Linked DNA regions of Homo sapiens: regions 1, 2 and 4 are each linked to region 3. The links are contacts of gene promoters, found by promoter capture Hi-C in human tissues and cell types (Jung and others, 2019). All regions are on one chromosome and are shown on one strand. Each heading gives the region's core, a stretch centred on a gene start or on the middle of the fragment in contact. The rest is flanking DNA. Distances are from core to core; before and after follow the strand shown.

The links. Contacts are between HindIII fragments. The study calls those that stand out against the background at their distance.
Region 1: a fragment that was not itself captured here is called in contact with the fragment with the promoter of LLGL2 in region 3 in 1 of the 25 tissues and cell types used here (dorsolateral prefrontal cortex).
Region 2: a fragment that was not itself captured here is called in contact with the fragment with the promoter of LLGL2 in region 3 in 1 of the 25 tissues and cell types used here (mesenchymal stem cells).
Region 4: a fragment that was not itself captured here is called in contact with the fragment with the promoter of LLGL2 in region 3 in 1 of the 25 tissues and cell types used here (lymphoblastoid cells).

The regions. Positions count from the first base shown.
Region 1 is chr17:75,369,561-75,372,260 of GRCh38, forward strand. The region is part of intron 2 of GRB2 (growth factor receptor bound protein 2); the gene reads right to left. Among named protein-coding and RNA genes, the nearest start is that of GRB2, 35 kb to the right of the region's middle. The HindIII fragment of the contact is 4,452 bases long and covers 1-2,700 here.
Region 2 is chr17:75,353,284-75,355,983 of GRCh38, forward strand. The region is part of intron 2 of GRB2 (growth factor receptor bound protein 2); the gene reads right to left. Among named protein-coding and RNA genes, the nearest start is that of GRB2, 51 kb to the right of the region's middle. The HindIII fragment of the contact is 7,881 bases long and covers 1-2,700 here.
Region 3 is chr17:75,524,398-75,527,097 of GRCh38, forward strand. It overlaps LLGL2 (LLGL scribble cell polarity complex component 2), which reads left to right and starts at 1,300. Exons shown (of 26, transcript NM_001031803.2): 1 at 1,300-1,428. TSEN54 (tRNA splicing endonuclease subunit 54) reads left to right here. Exons shown (of 11, transcript NM_207346.3): 11 at 1-338. The coding sequence ends at 15. RefSeq lists silencers at 666-765, 786-1,505, 822-1,006. The HindIII fragment of the contact is 8,139 bases long and covers 1-2,700 here.
Region 4 is chr17:75,705,685-75,708,384 of GRCh38, forward strand. It overlaps SAP30BP (SAP30 binding protein), which reads left to right. Exons shown (of 11, transcript NM_013260.8): 10 at 324-408; 11 at 656-2,375. The coding sequence ends at 837. Among named protein-coding and RNA genes, the nearest start is that of ITGB4, 14 kb to the right of the region's middle. RefSeq lists an enhancer at 707-1,906. The HindIII fragment of the contact is 8,365 bases long and covers 1-2,700 here.

The sequences.
Region 1 (2,700 bases), core at 167-2,666, 150 kb before region 3:
AAACTGTTTCTGGGCCAGGCGCAGTAGCTTACACCTGTAATCCCAGCACTTTGGGAGGCCGAGGCGGGCTGATCACTTGAGGTCAGGGGTTCAAGACCAGTCTGGGCAACATGGTGAAACCGTCTCCACCAAAAAAAAAAAAAAAAAAATTAGCCGGGTGTGGGGGTGCATGCCTGTAGTCCCCAGCTACTCAGGAGGCCGAGACAGGATAATTGCTTGAACCAGAGAGGCAGAGGCTGCAGTGAGCCAAGATCGTGCCACTGCACTCCAGCCTGGGCAACAGAGACTCCGTCTCAAAAAAAAAAAACTGTTTTTGACTATGGCTGATGGTATTTAAGAACTTACTGACTCTGATGCAAATGTACCTACCACTACCAGAAAAACAACTCAAAGCATATATATGTTCCTTTGCTTGAAGGATGGCATTACTTACTCAAAACATGGACCATCACAGTACTAAGAGACAGGGACACTCAATGAATGAATGCTTAAAAGTGATGCTCAGACTGACTCTCGAGGTAATGGCTAAAGCCAGGGCCCATGAGAAATGTAAATTCATTATTTTGTGGATATCATATGGTTAGCTGTTAACAGAGGTCATTGATGCAACGTTCAAGCTCCAAGGCTGCCACTAATATTCATACACCCCAAAAGCTGGCTACTATGGGCAAATTTAAAAAGATATTGGTGCCTTGTTGACTGAAACCCACTATTCCAGGCCTGGAAGAACTGAAATGTCAGTTGATGAAAAAAATTTTCAGAAGTGTGTCAAATCTGTCCGCATGAATTTCAATACGAAGGCTTTCCAAACTCTGACTAAGAGAGAATTTGTACCACTTGTTCCTTCTGACTTCAATATCTTGTTCGGTTTGGATACCTTCCAGGCTGGTACAGCTATGTTTGGCACCACAAAGCATGCCAGCCAGCCCTAGCTGTGTTGCTAATAAGAGGTCAGAACGCGTCCCTGGAAATACAGAGACACAATTAAGACTTCAAACAGCTGTTTGTTAAGCCAAGTGTTCTGGCAAAGCTTGAAAAATAGAAAACCTTCCCCTCAATCCAGCTCACTTTTTTAGCAGCAAAGTAAACTCAAGAGAGCCATCTGATGCGAAGGGACTCTTCTTCCCAGGAGGACTTCAGTCCTCTGCAAAGCTGTTCTTTGGCACTTTCCCTAGGGCTATGGGTTGTGTAAACTATGTAAATTAGAACGAATCTTCACAGTTCCTTCAAACTCTCCCTGTGAGTTTTATTCTTGTTTTTTATACATCCAAAGAATAAAGAACAAATTCAGGTGGGAAAGCCAATGTGTTCGACACCTCCTTTCATAGTTGATCTTTCTTACCCATGTTTGGACAATCTACTAAAATATAATGCCACCACGATGTTGGATGGAACAAATGTCCAAAAACAAAAACTAGTGGAAACTTGGAATGTTTATTGGGCAGTGACTTTAAGAAATAAAAGTGAGGCCAAGTGTGGTGGCCCATGCCTGTAATCCCAGCACTTTGGGAGGCCAAGGTGGGAGGACTGCTTGAGTCCAGGAGTCCGAGACCAGTCTGGGCAACATGGCAAGACCTAATCAATACAAAAATAAAACATAAAAATAAAAAATAACACTGATTAAGTATTCTTTAGATCGTAAGCACAGTAAAGTGTAATTATACTTTACAAAGACTCAAGAAAAAAGTAGTTAAGAAATCTAACCAAGGTGCTGGCAAGGAAAATAAAGGAATAAAAAAAAAAAAATTCAAGGGTTTCTATTTCTGGTCTGTTGCCTAAATAAAGGCAAAAGAGCTGCCGCAACGTAAGAACCAAGCCTGAACTCAGGCAGGACAACATTGAGTGACACAAAGAGGATATCAACTATAGACTCAGTTCACACTGAGTAGGATGAACATGGTGTGAATTTCCTCCCTTCTTGCCTCCAACACATTAAACTATGTTGCTAGGCAACTGTGCAAGATGCTGATAGAGGAACCTACTGTGAAATGGAGTAACAAAAGCACACTGTGGCAAGAGGTACACAATGGTGCTCGGGGCAGCAAAGGGGAACCCGAGGGAAAAGAAGAACACCCAGAAAACCTTCTGGAGATTGGGTCTGTTCTAAGCAACGAGAGGTGGCCAAGGCACGTAAATGCTAAAGGTTACACCACACAAAAGGAACAACATGACTGAAGACCAGAAATACGAGATAGCCCAGTGGTCAGGGAAAACAAGCAACTAACTGAAAATTGACAAAATTTTGTTTAAATATAGAAAGTAAGATCACCCAACCCATTATTTCTGACATTACTGGCAAAAGCGTTGACCAATGGAACACTGTAGAGCTTTCTGGAGGAGGATAGTAAATTATGCAAAACTGTGGTGCAAGTTAACACACAGAATTAAAATGAGTATCTACAATAAGAGTAAGACTTTGCCGAAGATTATTTGCGTAAAACACAGTTCTGAAAAGAAAACACAATAATTATGGTTTTGCTGAATTCAAAGAAATGCTGCCTCTGCTCTCTGGATATGTCTCAGATGCTGCTGTCTGCACATTTAGCTCGAGACCACATTACACATCCAATGACACAAGGCACCCAAATTAAAAGAGAAAGCACTAGACTCAAGAACATCTTACAGGCCACCCCCGAGCAGTGAGCCTAAGAGAACTCTTATTTCCACTAGTGAAGATGCAGAACAAAGTACAACAGGTCC
Region 2 (2,700 bases), core at 104-2,603, 170 kb before region 3:
GTTGGCCCTCTGCGTAAGTGGGCTGTGCATCCTGTGAATACTGTCTTTTTGACACACATGTAGACTGAAAAAAATCCGTGTATAAGCGGAACCATGCAGCTCAAACCTCTGTTGCTCAAGGGTCAACTGTACTTCCTTTACTGGTTGGGCTTCTGTATTTCCTCGAGTTTCTATGCCCTTAAAAAAAAAACCATTTTTACCGGGCGCGGTGGCTCACACCTGTAATTCCAGCACTTTGGGAGGCCAAGGCAGGCAGATCATGAGGTCAGGGGTTCAAGACCAGCCTGACAACACGGTGAAACCCCGCCTCTACTAAAAACACAAAAATTCGCCAGGTGTGGTGGCACATGCCTGTAATCCCAGCTACTCAGGAGGCTGAGGCAGGAGAATCGCTTGAACCTGGGAGGCAGAGGTTGCAGTGAGCCGAGACTGCGCCACTGCACTCCAGCCTGGGCAACAACAAAAAAAATTCTGGCCAGGTACAGTGGCTCATGCCTGTAATCCCAGCACTTTGGGAGGCCGAGGCAGGCGGATCATCTGAGGTCAGGAGTTCAAGACCAGCCTGGCCAACATGGAGAAACTCCGTCTCTACTAAAAATACAAAAAATTAGCCAAGCATGGTGGTGCATGCCTGTAATCCCAGCTACTTGGGAGGCTGAGGCAGGAGAATTGCTTGGACCCGGGAGGCGGAGGTTGCAGTGAGCCGAGATCACACCACTGTACTCCAGCCTGGGTGACAGAGCGAGACTCTGTCTCAAAAAAAAAACAAAAACGAAAGGGTGCGTGAGGGGCAAATGTTTTGAGTCCTTGCATGTCTGGAAATGTCTTGATTCTATGTTTATACTTGAAGGCTATTTCGGCTGGGTATAGATTTCAACAGAATCCTGGGCTGAACAGCATTTTCCCTCAGAACTTGGAAGAGACATTGTTTTCTGGTATTCAGAGTTGTACAAGCAAAGTTTATTCATGGTCTTTTTTTTTGGGGGGGGGGGGGAGATGGAGTTTCACTCTTGTCTCCCAGGCTGCAGTGCAATGGTGCGATCTCTGCTCACTGCAACAACCTCCACTTCCCATGTTCAAGCGATTCTCCTGCCTCAGCCTCCTGAGTAGCTGGGATTACAGGTGCCTGCCACCACAACCGGCTAATTTTTCTATTTTTAGTAGAGATGGGGTTTCACCACATTGCCAGTGCTTCTCGTAGGAACACAAACCCTACTGTAAACTGCTCACGCGAGGGATCTAGGTTGCCCGCTCCTTGTAAGAATCTAATGCCTGATGATCTGAGGTTGAACAGTCATCCTGAACCATCTCGACCCCCCACTTCCATGGAAAAATTGTCTTCCATGAAACCAGTCCCTGGTAGCAAAAAGGTTGGGGACTGCTGGATTCAAGAATTGCTGGAAGAGCCCACTGCAGTCTTCCAAAAGATGTGACAGCTATTATTCAAACTTCCAGAAAGAGAACAGTGAAAATAGAAGAAAAGACACTACGAAATGTTTTTTAAAAAGGAAAAACTTAACTTCTCATAGCTGATGAATATGAATTTTCAGATAGGAAGGGCGCACTGAGAACCCAGCCATAGTGAATAAAAACAGATCTATGGCCGGGCACAGTTCATGCTTGTAATCTCAGCACTTCGGGAGTCTCCCAAGTAGTTGGGATTACAGGCACATGCCAACATGCCTGGCTAATTTTTGTATTTTTAGTAGAGACGGGGTTTCACCATGTAGGCCAGGTTGGTCTCGAACTCCTGACCTCAGGTGATCCACCTGCCTTGGCCTCCCAAAGTGCTGGGATTACAGGCGTGAGCCACCGCGCCTGGCCAGGACCTGTACTCGTACTTTTGTCCCTGTTCCTAGCAAAACAAAATTCTACGAAGGTGCTGAATCCCATCTCTTCTTGCCTGCTCAAGGACATTAACTCAGTTATTTTCCTTTCTTCTGCATCATCAATTTTAATTAAAATCTCTACTGGATTTTTCTAATCAACAAATAAAAATGCTGTCATTTCTCTCATCTCTGGGAGTGGGGTGAAAGCAGACTTCTTTTGACTCTACTGCCTCATCTCTCTGTTCCCCTTTAAATCAAAACTTTCTGGAACAGTTGTCTATACTCTCTGTCCCAGTTCTCTCCTCCTCCCCAAACATCTTGTTATAAAAGCTTTCAAGCATAAAGCAAAGTGAAAAGAATTTTACAGTGAATACATTTATCCATCACATAAATCGGGGATGTCCAATCTTTTGGCTTCCCTGGGCCATACTGGAAAAAAAAAAAGGTCTTAAGCCACACATAAAATACACTAACACTAATGATAGCTGATGAGCTTAAAAAAAAAAAAAAAAGCAAAAAAATCTCATAATGTTTTAAGAAAGCACAAATTTGTGTTGGGCCGCCTTCAAAGCCATCCTGGGCCACATGTGGCCTGCGGGCTGTGGGGCTGGACAAGTTTGACCTAAGTTATTTGCTCTGTCACATATCTATCCATCTATATACATCCCTCTCTCCTATTGATGTATCTTAATTTTCCTTTCTTCTTTTTTTTTTTTTTTTTTTTTTAAAGAGACAGAGTCTTGCTCTGTCGCCTAGGTTGGAGTGTGGAGTACAGTGGCGTGATCTCGGCTTACTGCAACCTTCGCCTCCCGAGTTCAAGCAATTCTCCTGTCTCAGCCTCTCGAGTAGCTGGGACTACAGACGCACGCTG
Region 3 (2,700 bases), core at 50-2,549:
GATGTGGGGCACTGACCTCACAGCTCTGCAGAGGATGGAGCTTGCTCCGGGGGACCGGGACTGTCTGTTCTCAGGGACCATCTCGGCTGCCTCCTGTACCCAGACTCTAACCTGTAGCTTCAGAGGCCAGTCTGGGCCTTGGCCCTGGGTGTCTGATACTCACAGAGTGAAACTGTGACCCTCTCCCTTCCCTGCTGCCTTGCAGTGACCCCTCTGGAACTCAGGACTCGATTTTAAGGACCCAGGAGGTGGGGCAGAAGAGAGGACTGTGTGCCTTTAACGAGAGGGTGCCTGCTTCGTGCTATAAAGCCAAAGCCATTAAAAATAGATTTCTTTTCTGCTGTTTCTGTATGTACTGGGTAAACCCCTCTCGCCCCCGTCCCGTTGTCAGTGGAACTGCCCCCAGCCCCTCACCCCTGCTTTGCCCACTCAAGGAGATCCGCTTCCTCTGGTGCGGGATCTAAGAGTGAGAGAAGCCCGCGGGATAGCAGGAACGCGACCTCGAACCTTTTGAGCCTTTCCCGGGCCTGCGTCGGAGGGGATGGGACGTCGCAGGCTTCCCGAAGGGAGGAGGGAGGACGGCGCGCCATCGGCCCTTCCCTGGGCGCAGCGGGGTGCGGGTGGCGAGAGGCGCCACCTGCAGCTGGGCGGTGGAGCGCGCTGCAGCCCCGGCCTCCGCGCCCTTTCCGCTCCCGCCTCTCGTCGCTCCAACCTCCTCCCTCGCTTGTGCTAAAAATTCCACCCGCTGTTGCAGACCCTCCGGCCGACACGGAGGAGGTGGGCGCCCCCCCGCACCCCCCCCCGAGGAAAGGCGTCTCGCCGCGACGCCCCGGTCCCTACACCATCCCTCTCGTGGGGCTGGAAACCCGGCCCTGCGTCCCCCGGTCACCCTCTCTGGGCTGGGCTCTGGCAGAGGAGCTGGCCCGGATCCGCCCCTCCCTCGGCAGCTCCCGGGAGTTGGAGGGACGGCTCCCCTGGAGTCTGGGAGGCGGCCCGGGACCGCAGGCGTTCCGGGAACTATTTCCGCTTGCGGGAGGCGGCGGGACACTGGGCGCGGCGCGCCGTTCTGCGTCCAGGTGCGCGCAGGTGAGGCCGGGGCGGGCCTGCGGAACCCCGAGGCCGTTCGCGAGGCCCCGCCCCGCGCTTCCCGGGGCCGCGGATTGGCAGGAGCGCAGCCCCCACCCCCGAGGGTGCCCCCGCCCCTGCGGCGCCGAGCTGGGGGGCGGGCCGGGGGCGGGGCGCTGGGCCCCGGCAGGCTCGCCCTTTATGTAAATAGCGCGGCTCCGCCCCAGGCTCGCCGCGCCGGAGGTGAGCAGGAAGGAGACGGCCGCCCAGCAGCCCGTGGGCAGGCGCGGCGGAGCGAGCGGGGCCGGCGGCGGGCGCCGAGGGACGCCGAGGCCTCGGGCGGGGGCTGGCCCGGGGTTCCAGGTGAGATGCGTGCCGGACTCGCCCAGCCGGGCCCGCCCCCTCGGGGCTTCCACCTGGGGCGGGGAGGCCAGGGAGGCCCAGGACCCCTGGGCTGTCGGGCCAGGGCGGGAGGGCTGCGCCCAGGTCCGCGCGCCTCGCCCCTGTCCGCGTCGCTGTGCTGGCCTGGAAGAGAGACACCTGTAGAAAGTTCTGCGGGAAACTTCTCTGCCTGATCTGCGCGATGACTGAAACTTGGGCTTGGGTTTGCACAATAATGTTGGCTTAGGAGAGCAGGAGAACAGGTGCCCCGGCCGGCTGGGTGCGGGGGGCACCGCGGGCAGAGACGGAGTCCCCGGGCCCACGTGCAGGCGCCAGGCCAGCGGGGTTGGCGACGCGCGTCTGCGGTGACCCCCTCCCCACGGGCGGCGGCCGGAGCGCGGTGCCCCGGCGGCTTAGCCCCTGCCCCTGCCATCTGGGCTGTGTCCCTGCCGGCCCTTTGTGCCTCCTAATCCCCGGACGCAGGAAGCCCGCGGGAGGGACTTCGGTCTCCGGCCTTTCTCCAGCTGGGGCGGCTTTGGACACCTTCACATGACAGTGCGGAGACCCAGTCTGCCCTCCATGCTGACGGGCGGGGTTTGCGCTGTGGGATTTGGCGAGAAGTGGAAAATTCTATCTTGCCAAAGAAAGTGTGTCTTAGTTTGTTCCGGCTGGACGATTGGTGGACACGCTGGGCCTTGGCTGTGGGGAGAACTGACCTAACCAGGGGAGCTGTAGAGTGGCGCTTTGAGGCTCTCACCTGAACAGGTGAGCTTTGAGTGAGGAGGGCGCCCCTTCCCCTGGGGATCCGTATGCGACTGCCGGCAGCCTTAACCTGGGCTCCAGGGACCCCCTGCTGGAGTTTGTAGTTCAAGAGAACCTTGAGTTCTCTTGAAGGGGCTACAGAGAGGATTCTGAGCAGGGAGCGGGCAGGGAGGGAATGGGTGTGTCAAGGTGACAAGGAAACGCTGGTAGGAAGAGCAGAGCTGCCACAGAAGAGCTGTGGCCCAGCCCGGGGGAAGCCAAGGTCAGAAGTGGCAGTTGAGGCTGGGTGCATTGGCTCACAGCTGTAATCCCAGCACTTTGGGAAGCCAAGGCAGGAGGATCGCCTGAGCCCAGGAGTTTGAGACCAGCCTGGGCAACATAGTGAGACCTCGTCTCTGCAAATAATAAAAAAAGTTAGCCAGGCATGGTGGCGTGCACCTGTAGTCCCAGCTACTCAGGAGCCTGAGGTGGGAGGATTGCCTGAGCCCAGGA
Region 4 (2,700 bases), core at 86-2,585, 180 kb after region 3:
CTCCTGGGTGTGAGGAGGAGGGGCCTGGCCAAACGGTTCTGGGCATGTGAGGTGGGGCGGTGGGCGGGGGGTGCCGGGCATGTGCAGAGACCTGGTGATGCCGGGAGGGATACAGTACTGTTTGGAAAGTTCTTTTAAGAGTGAAAAGCCCCTTTGGGTTCTTCTTAGACATCTCGCCCTACCCCAGATGGGCAGAGCAGAGTTCATTTCCAATGCCTCTTTTGTGTAGTGCCAAGCTCCTGTCCCCCAGGAGCTGACGGATGGCAAAAAGCTGTGGACACCCAGCTTTGCCTGGTCTTATTCTCTTCCCTCTCCCTCTCCAGATTGAGTTTGTGACGGGCACCAAAAAAGGCACCACGACCAACGCCACGTCCACCACCACTACCACTGCCAGCACAGCTGTTGCAGGTAGATTGCAGAGCTGCCCTGCCTCCTGCCACACACATGGAGCCAGGGTCTCCCTGGCTTGTTTGGGCGACAGACAGCACGTGGATCTGGGCCTGGGCTCAGCCTTGCTACTTTGAGAAGCACCTTTGGAGTCTGGGGTGGGCCACTTCGGGGTCTGCTCCCTAGACTCCCGCTGGCCTGCAGGGGGAAGGGAAAGAGGGCACCGCTCATTGGTGGATCGTGATCCTGATTTCTGCTTTATCTCCAGATGCTCAGAAGAGAAAGAGCAAGTGGGATTCGGCTATCCCAGTGACAACGATAGCCCAGCCCACCATCCTCACCACCACAGCCACCCTGCCAGCTGTTGTCACGGTCACCACCAGCGCCAGCGGCTCCAAGACCACCGTCATCTCTGCTGTGGGCACCATTGTGAAGAAGGCCAAGCAGTGACCTGAGGGGCCACCCTAGGACTTGAAAGGACCGTGCAGCCCAGTGACCACTGCCCAGTGGGAGGCGCCACTTTGTATATTTCAGGACTGGGACCTACTCCCCAGATGCCACCTGAGAGGAGCTTCTGTTTGGCATTCCAGATGGAAGGACAGGCAGCACGGGAGCCAGGCGCTGTGGACAGGGTCTGTCCACGCACCACCTGGGGTCTGCCGCCTATTAAAAGTGCCGTATTCTTACCTCTTGGCATCTCAGATGCACTGGCCTCTCCTGCATTCTGTTTGCAGGCAAATGCTTCAGCTCACATGTCCCCCAAGACTCAATAGTCTTGGTTGGGACTATTGCCTCAGGGTTGACAACAGGGTGATGGAGGCCTGGGACGCTGTTCAGAGGGGTGACCCAAGAAGTCACCGTTGTTATCCGTGTATGCCTCTGGGCATGGACAGGCGGGAGTCCCCGAGCCCCACGTATGCCCCATCTGCCGCCTTGATCCCAAAACCCAGCCAGTTCTCGGGTGATGGTGGAGCTGTGCTCCCTTGAGTGCACTTGAGCACTCCCCAGACCAGATCACTTTTTGGACACACCCAGGAAGGCTTTTGAAGTCAAGCCAGTTTCCAGAAGGGCTGGGGTGAGATCCTGACCTGTGCAGAGAGTGGGGAGGCGTCAGCGCCTGGCCAGGGCTGCCCCAGTCCTTTGGTGCCCGGTGAGCGCAGCCAGCAGGAGCTGAGCAGCGGGGGAGATGAATCACCTCCTGCCTTGGCGAGGCGGCAGCTCATTGTTTACAGGCAAGCCCTGCTCCTGGGAGGGCTCCTGCCACCCCACCCTTCCTCTGTGTGTTATCTCTGCCCCACAGCAGCCCCTGGGCAGCACCAGTGGCCACTGGGCTCCCCCCGGGGTTGAAACGGGTTTCCCAGACCAGGGGTTCAGAGGAGACTATTTACCCTTCATGATCTTTGGCGATTCTCCACTGGAGCGGAAGGGCTGTGTGTCAAAAGAAGGAAGCCAGGCTGTGAAGGGCCGTGTTGCTTTCAGTGGGTGGGCAGAGGTTTAGAAAGGTGGTTCTGAAATGGCACCTGGTACTCTTGTGGGACCTGGGGAATATAAGGAACTCTGTGCATGAGGTTTCAAAAATAAAAATTGAGTCCACTCTCCCCGTACACACACACTCGGGCACTTCAGGAGGTCAGTTCTCACCCCTTCCTCGATGGGGCTTTAAAGCTCTGGGGAGAAGAGCTGCTCCCCACTCATGCCCCAGAGGGACTGTGAAAAGGCTTCCTGTGACCTCCGATGGCGGCCCCTCATTGGCCAAGGGCACTGTGGATGTTTTGTGGGAGGCAGCATGGCACCGTGGAAAGGGCAGTAGACGTGGAGCCGGCACCTCTGGTCTGGATTCCACTTAAAACCAGTTGAGTGGTCTCAAGCCCTTAACCTCTGTAAGCCTGTTTCTTCTCTGAAATCACAGTAATAAAGCGTCGTAAGATGGTTGGGAAGAACCAGAGGTGACTTATGCAAAAGCTTTATAAACTGTAAAGTTCCTGCCAGTGTTTTTTGTTGGCTAAATCCAATTTTTTTTTGTTGTAGACCAAGGAGAGAAGCAAACTCCTGGCCTGTCCCCCGTCTCGTGCTCTGTCGGCGGGGTAGGGTTTGGCAGGTCTTTCCCCTCCCCGCTTTCCTCTGGGCAGCCCTGGCGCTGCCATTCATCTGTCCAGTTAAAGCAGTAATGACTGTCTCCTGCGGGGCCGCAGAGGTAGGGGGCCTGGAGAATGAACATAGGCTTAGAAGTTGGGCAACCCCAGGCCAAAACTGCTGCCCCACTTACCAGCCTCGTGAGTTGGGTCAAGGTTTTTAATCCTTCTAGACTTTCAT